Regions from separate parts of the Homo sapiens genome. Here region 1 is linked to region 2. Evidence: promoter capture Hi-C in 16 types of primary human blood cells and fetal thymus (Javierre and others, 2016). All regions are on one chromosome and are shown on one strand. Each heading gives the region's core, a stretch centred on a gene start or on the middle of the fragment in contact. The rest is flanking DNA. Distances are from core to core; before and after follow the strand shown.

Region 1 (3,142 bases), core at 541-3,040, 230 kb before region 2:
TTTAAAAATTGTATTGGTATTTCCACTAAAAAGATCCAAATTATCTTTGCCTTTTTTTTTTTTTTTTTTTTTGAGACAGGGTCTCTTGCTCTGTCGCCCAGGCTGGAGTGCAGTGGCGTGACCTCGGCTCACTGCAAGCTCCGCCTCCCGGGTTCACGCCATTCTACTGTCGCAGCCTCCTGAGTAGCTGGGACTACAGGCACTCGCCACCACGCCTGGCTAATTTTTTTGTATTTTTGGTAGAGATGAGGTTTCACCGTGTTAGCCAGGATGGTCTCGATCTCCTGATCTTGTGATCCGCCCATCTCGGCCTCCCAAAGTGCTGGGATTACAGGCGGGAGCCACCGTGCCCCGCCTTTTTTTTTTTTTTTTAAGATGGAGTCTCACTCCATCTCAGCCTCCCAGGCTGGAGTGCAGTGGTGTGATCTTGACTCCCTGCAACCTCCGGTTCCCAGGCTCAATTGATCCTCCTGCCTCAGCCTCTCGAGTATCTGGGACCACAGGCGTACGCCACCAAGCCTGGCTAATTTTTGTATTTTCTGTAGAGATGGGGTTTCACTGCATTGCCCAGGCTGGTCTCCAGCTCCTGGGCTCAAGTGATCACTTGCCTCAGCCTCTCAAAATGCTGGGATTACAGGCGTGAGCCACTGTGCCCGGCCTATCTTTGCCTTTTTCCATCACTGACTACCCCAGGGCCTTCATAGAACTATCACTTGCCACGATGACTTTCCTGCCACCTATGTAACAGTCTGCCAAACTCCTCAGAGCCACATCTGCTTAGCGTGGTCTCGCAATTCTAGTCTTACTACAACCTGTCACACCCATCAACTGAGATCTCCTTCCTTTATTCCTTTCAGAAGGAATCTCAGAACACACTACTCCCCAGTGAAAAACCAAAAATCCACCCTTGGTCTTGGGGCCCTGGAAGACCCAGAAGCTTCTTAGGGGGAGAGGGCTAGAATGACAAAAGTGCCTCTAAGCCCCTCACCAGTGTTATCAGAGTGGTGAGGACGGGAACCAACAAGGTTCGCAGTCCTTGCCACCAGCCAGGTCTCCTGGCAGAGCCCGTGAGCAAGGTGCAGGGCACAGGGACAACATGGGATGCAGCCCGGGCTCCATTTCCCACTGGCCCTCCATGAAGGGAGTGGCACCCACTTGAAGAGGGAAATAGACTCAAGCAGAGACCAGGCGCATGTGCAGCTGTTCTGACGGGAGAGAGCTGGCCACAGGAGCAATGAGGCGCCAAGACGGCCAGTGGTATCTCAGCCCCAGGATAGAAAGCTGAACTTACAGCTGAGTGTGAAGACGCCTATTTATTCCACGGGACCTACCAAAGTGGATATTCCTGTCTGTAACCTAGCAGACACTTCCAGAGAGTTCTCCAGCAAATTTTCTGCCAGTGTGATGCTAACAGTGGAAGCAGAGACACATTCTGCCTAGAGAGACGTGCTTTTCCCTCTCAAGTAAAAAGGCAACCAGAGGTTTTGAGACATCACTTTCACCCAACTACTGACCAAGGATGCCAATTAAAAACAAATCATGGCTGGGCGCAGTGGCTCACACCTGTAATCTCAGCACTTTGGGGGGCCGAGGTGGGCAGATCACCTGAGGTCAGGAGTTCAAGACCACCCTGACCAACATGGTAAAACTCCGTCTCTGCTAAAAATACAAAAATTAGCCGGGCGTGGTGGCGGGCGCCTGTAATCCCAGCTACTCAGGAGGCTGAGGCAGAGAATCACTTGACCCCAGGAGGTGGAGGTTGCAGTGAGCCGAGATCGCGCCACTGCACTCCAGGCTGGGCGACAGAGCGAGACTCTGTCTCAAAAAAAACAAAAAACAAAAACAAAAAAACTCAAATCCTTTCCATTGTCCTTGCCACAGAAGCGTTCCCATTTTTACTGAACAGAAATCCATATAGTCTCACACATATTTTTTTTCTTGGAAAATCTTAGTATATTGAATACAGCCCCTCATCTTGAGGCCTCTGGTGAGGATATAATGGGACACTTAACATGCCTATACCTGAGGCCCTCTCCCGAGAGCCAACACAGGCATTTGATTTCGTGTCTGGCACAAACTGTGAGCCCACCATAATCTCTAAATAGCTGGCTCCACAAGTCACCCTAGGGAACCCCAGGGCTTCTCTCTTCCTCCCAGTCCTCACTCTCCTCCCATGATTCCATGGAGTAACTATCAACAAGCAGGTTAGCTGGAGGGAGTCAGGAAGAGGAGGAATAAGCTGTTTCCACTAGCACTGTTGGCTAAAACAACTCCCAGCAGCTCCCTCTGCCAAAAAAATAGGGGTGGGTAAGGGAGTCCCTTGAGGGAGGCAGGAACCTAAATTTCTCTCCTAAAGCCAAGTAAGGGGTTGACCAGGGTAGAGCTGCCTCAGACACAGGGCACAGCTAAGAAAGAGACATCATCTTCACCCAACTACTGACAGAGGATGCCAGTTAAAACCAAATCCTTTCCATAGCCCTTGCCACAGAAGCATTCCCATTTTTGTAAAGCAGAAATTAATACAGTCTCACAAATATTTTTTCTCATAAGCTCTTAGTACCCTGGATACAGGCCCTTGCCAATTAGGAATGGGAGCCTTGCTCACAGCCCCACGCGAGCGCCTCCCAGGTGTGTGCGTGCCCAGCAAGCTTGGACGGGGTGAAGCATTGGCAGGGAGGACAGTGCTGGCACGGAGTGAACACGAACTTTCATACCAAGTCTAGAGAACATACATGAGTTTAGAAAATAAACAAACCAGACAGACAGATTTACATTTGGCAAAATGATGTGAAACACAAATGGACAGATGGAAGCCAGGCCAGGAGCGGGAAGGCAGGGAGTGAAGCAGCCCCTGGGCCCCAGCAGCTCCAGTCCAGGCCTAACTGGCAGGAGGCTGGCCCCGTGGTCAACGCTCCCTCCTCCACGCTCAGGCAGGAAGGGGGTCTTCCCTGGGCCTGCGCAGGAGAAGCAGGGGAACTGATACTGCCTCTTTTGGTCTCACTGAAAATGAAGAGGCCTGGGCAGTGTCTTTAGAACAAACTAAATAGAAAATGACTCAAGAAAGCCCTTTGAAGGGCTGGAGAAAGTATCTCTAGAGAATTCCAGCTTCCCCTGCCACAAGCTTGTGTGGGGCCAGAGTGTG
Region 2 (3,018 bases), core at 519-3,018:
GGGGAGCACAGCCTCCGATTCGCGTTTTCTAGGCACCAAAGTCCCTCGCTGGAGGAAGAGGAGGGGAAGAAGGCAGAGGAGAGGGGAGGGGCGGACGGATCTGGTCCTGGGCTCCCGCGCGGAGCCCCCTCCTCCCACAGCCGCCGCTCGCGTCCCCGCAGCGCATGACCGCGGCACTGCGGCTGCAGGGCTCTCTCCCCCGCCCGCGCCGGATTCCTGGAGCAAGGGGGTGGGGGGCTCGGAGGTGCAGGACCCATCATTCCGACACGCGCCGCGACGCCAGGAGTCGGGGATGACGCCCCTGCTCCCTCCCCTCGTTCCTGTTTCTCGGAGTTTTTCGACCCCTGAGCGCGTCGCTGAGTCACCTTCCCGGAACGCGCTCGGGACGCTCTGGACCCAGCGGGGACTGCCCGGGGGCCGCGCAAGGCGAAGGCGCACCCGCCGATACGCGCGCGGAGCTGCGGCCCCAGGGACCCCGCGTCCCAGCCAGTGCCCCCCGACCCGCCCGGGGACTCTCGGGTCCCGCCCGTCTGACCCCCCAAGTGTTGGGAAACGGGGCCGAGCTGCCTGGGTCCTCCGGAAGAGAAGACACCGCGGAGGCGTGCCGGAGTTCAGGGCGCCGCCCGGCTAATTGGCTGCGTGCTCCTCCTGGACCTGCCTCTTCTCGACTTTAAGAAGCGATGAGAGAGGTGTGTGGGGGCGGGTGGGGCCGGCGGGGGCGCGCGAGCCCCGCAGCCTCCCGCAGGGGCTTGGTTTCTCCTAACTCTGGCCCTACCTGGGCAGGTCACCAATGGGCCTTGGCAACTTCTTCCTCCGTCTCCGCCGTAACCCCCCAGGGATCTAACTCGAGGTGCTCGCGGACACGTTCTGTGGCTTGCCGCGATAAGTGTATCACAAACACACTGACAAACGCGTCCCTACTGGCCTCCAAAGAAGTGACAACTTCTGAGCGCGTTTCCGGCGCCCCTTCTTCACGCTGAGCCAGAGGGGGCGGGGGGCACGTACCACATGCTTGGCTTTCCAATCCCGACGGGGGCCCCCAGGCCCATCTACACTGTCAAGCCTCCTCTCCGGCTCGGAGCCCCCGGCCTGTCGCCTGCTCTACCCGGGACAGCGCGCTAGGCGGCCTCAGGCTCGGTAGCCCAGCTGCAGCGTCGGGAAGTTAAAAATAACCTCCGTGGGAGCGCGGGGGAGGAAGAAAGAGGGAAGCTGGTGGGCGGCGGGCGAGACGCCCCGGCCTGGAGAGGCGCCCCGGGTGGCGTGCGGGCCTCGAATTTCGGGTGGGCTAGGGCAGAGCGCGCAAAAGGGGCGCTGCATCCCGGCGCCGACAGCACCCGCGGGGGCGAGGTCGTGGCGTCGAGGTGAAACCAAGGGTCCCCCGGGAGAGCGGAGCCGCGCGCGCCCGGCGCTCGCTCCGACACGAGTTCGCGCGGAGCCCGCGCCTCCGTCTGCGCTGCGCGGTCGCTTTCGCGCGCCCCAGACACTGCGCTCGCGGCCGGGCCCGGGACTCCGCGCCTCGCGGCCTGCCGCCTCAGCTCACCCGGCCAGGTCGCGGCGCCGCCTTCTAGCCAGACGCCTAGGACGAGCGGCGGGGGCGCGCTTGCCGCTTCCTAGGACCCGGGCGGGAACCAGCTCGTGGCCCGGCCGTGGGCGCGGGCCGTGCCGGAGGCGGCGCGCTGAGGCCGGAGGCGGGCAGAGGCCGAGGCCGCGCCGGGCTCAGGTTCCACCCCCGGGAGCGCGGGGCGGAGCCAGGCCGGCGCCGAGGCTCAGTGCCCTCCCCGCTCCGCGGCGCCGGCTGCGAAGTTGAGCGAAAAGTTTGAGGCCGGAGGGAGCGAGGCCGGGGAGTCCGCTCCAGCGGGGCGCTCCAGTCCCTCAGACGTGGGCTGAGCTTGGGACGAGCTGCGTTCCGCCCCAGGCCACTGTAGGGAACGGCGGTGGCGCCTCCCCAGCAAACCGGACCGACTGGGTAGGGCCGCCCACCCTGCCTTCGCGCCGCTCGTGGCTCCTGTGCGGCCCGCCCTCGCGGGGCCCCGGGAACTGGGCCACTTGTCGCTTGGGCGAGAGCAGGCGGCAGCTGGTGGCCCGGTTCGGGCTTGGCTTTGGCGCGACCCGGGAGCGGCTCCCACGAGCGCCGCGCGCGTCGCAACGGAGCGGGGCCCTGAGAAGCGCGCGCCGCGGCTCCCACCGCTCTGGAGCTCCGGGCAGGGGACACGGCAACCTGGATGGCTGGGGCAGGGATCCTCTCCCAGAACTTCGTGCCCAGCAATGTCCGCTCAAGTTCTGGGATTTTTACGCAGCTGGACTCCCCTCCCCCTGGCAGCCCCGAGGGGTGAGGAGCTAGTCCGTCGGAGGGAGCCACGGGGCTCTGACTCATCCGTCGGGCCGGAACCGAACCCCAAGCCCCAGGGAGAAAGCCCCGGAGCAGGCGCCCTTCTCAGGGATTGTAGGCTTAGTCACACGGCGGGGGCGCCCTCGGAGGCACCGGACCTCAGCTCTCTGGACTTCCCGGGAACCTGGCTCCCCGCGCGTGGTCCCGGGATTTAGTCGGGCGCTCCCCACCTCTGGCAGCTGCGGCCCCGGACTCCGCCAGCGCTGTCTTCTCTCCCTCAGGTCCAGCCGCCGCAGGGAATGACGCCGGTGCTCCTGCAGCCACGGCTCCGGGCGGGGAAGGCGAGCCCCACAGCCGGCCCTGCGACGCCCGCCTGGGCAGCACCGATAAGGAGCTGAAGGCAGGAGCCGCCGCCACGGGCAGCGCCCCCACAGCGCCAGGGACCCCCTGGCAGCGGGAGCCGCGGGTCGAGGTTATGGATCCAGGTTTGTGGGGTTCCTGCTGGGAAGGGCTGTAGGGGGATTCCTGTTCCTCGCCAGGAATGATGGAACGCCCAGCTGGACGAAAGGGGCTGTGGACGATCGGGAGAAACATTATCCCTCACGAGGCCAGAAGCCGGCCGAATCTGAGCCAAGGAAGGGGGTGGCAGGGGCGCCGCGTCCCCACCCCAGGTCTCCCAGCAAAGGCCG

Evidence for each region. Contacts are between HindIII fragments. The CHiCAGO score rates a contact against its expected background, and 5 or more counts as called.
Region 1: a contact is called between a fragment that was not itself captured here and the fragment with the promoter of SPHK1 in region 2, in 1 of 17 cell types (M1 macrophages). The highest score is 5.1, in M1 macrophages.

What each region holds. Positions count from the first base shown.
Region 1 is chr17:76,148,211-76,151,352 of GRCh38, forward strand. All of the region lies in intron 18 of RNF157 (ring finger protein 157), which reads right to left. The region is part of intron 6 of RNF157-AS1 (RNF157 antisense RNA 1); the gene reads left to right. Among named protein-coding and RNA genes, the nearest start is that of FOXJ1, 8.5 kb to the left of the region's middle. The HindIII fragment of the contact is 1,711 bases long and covers 936-2,646 here.
Region 2 is chr17:76,382,841-76,385,858 of GRCh38, forward strand. SPHK1 (sphingosine kinase 1) reads left to right here and starts at 1,769. Exons shown (of 6, transcript NM_001142601.2): 1 at 1,769-1,966; 2 at 2,611-2,814. The coding sequence starts at 2,805. RefSeq lists silencers at 407-696, 717-856, 1,437-2,136. The HindIII fragment of the contact is 9,575 bases long and covers 1-3,018 here.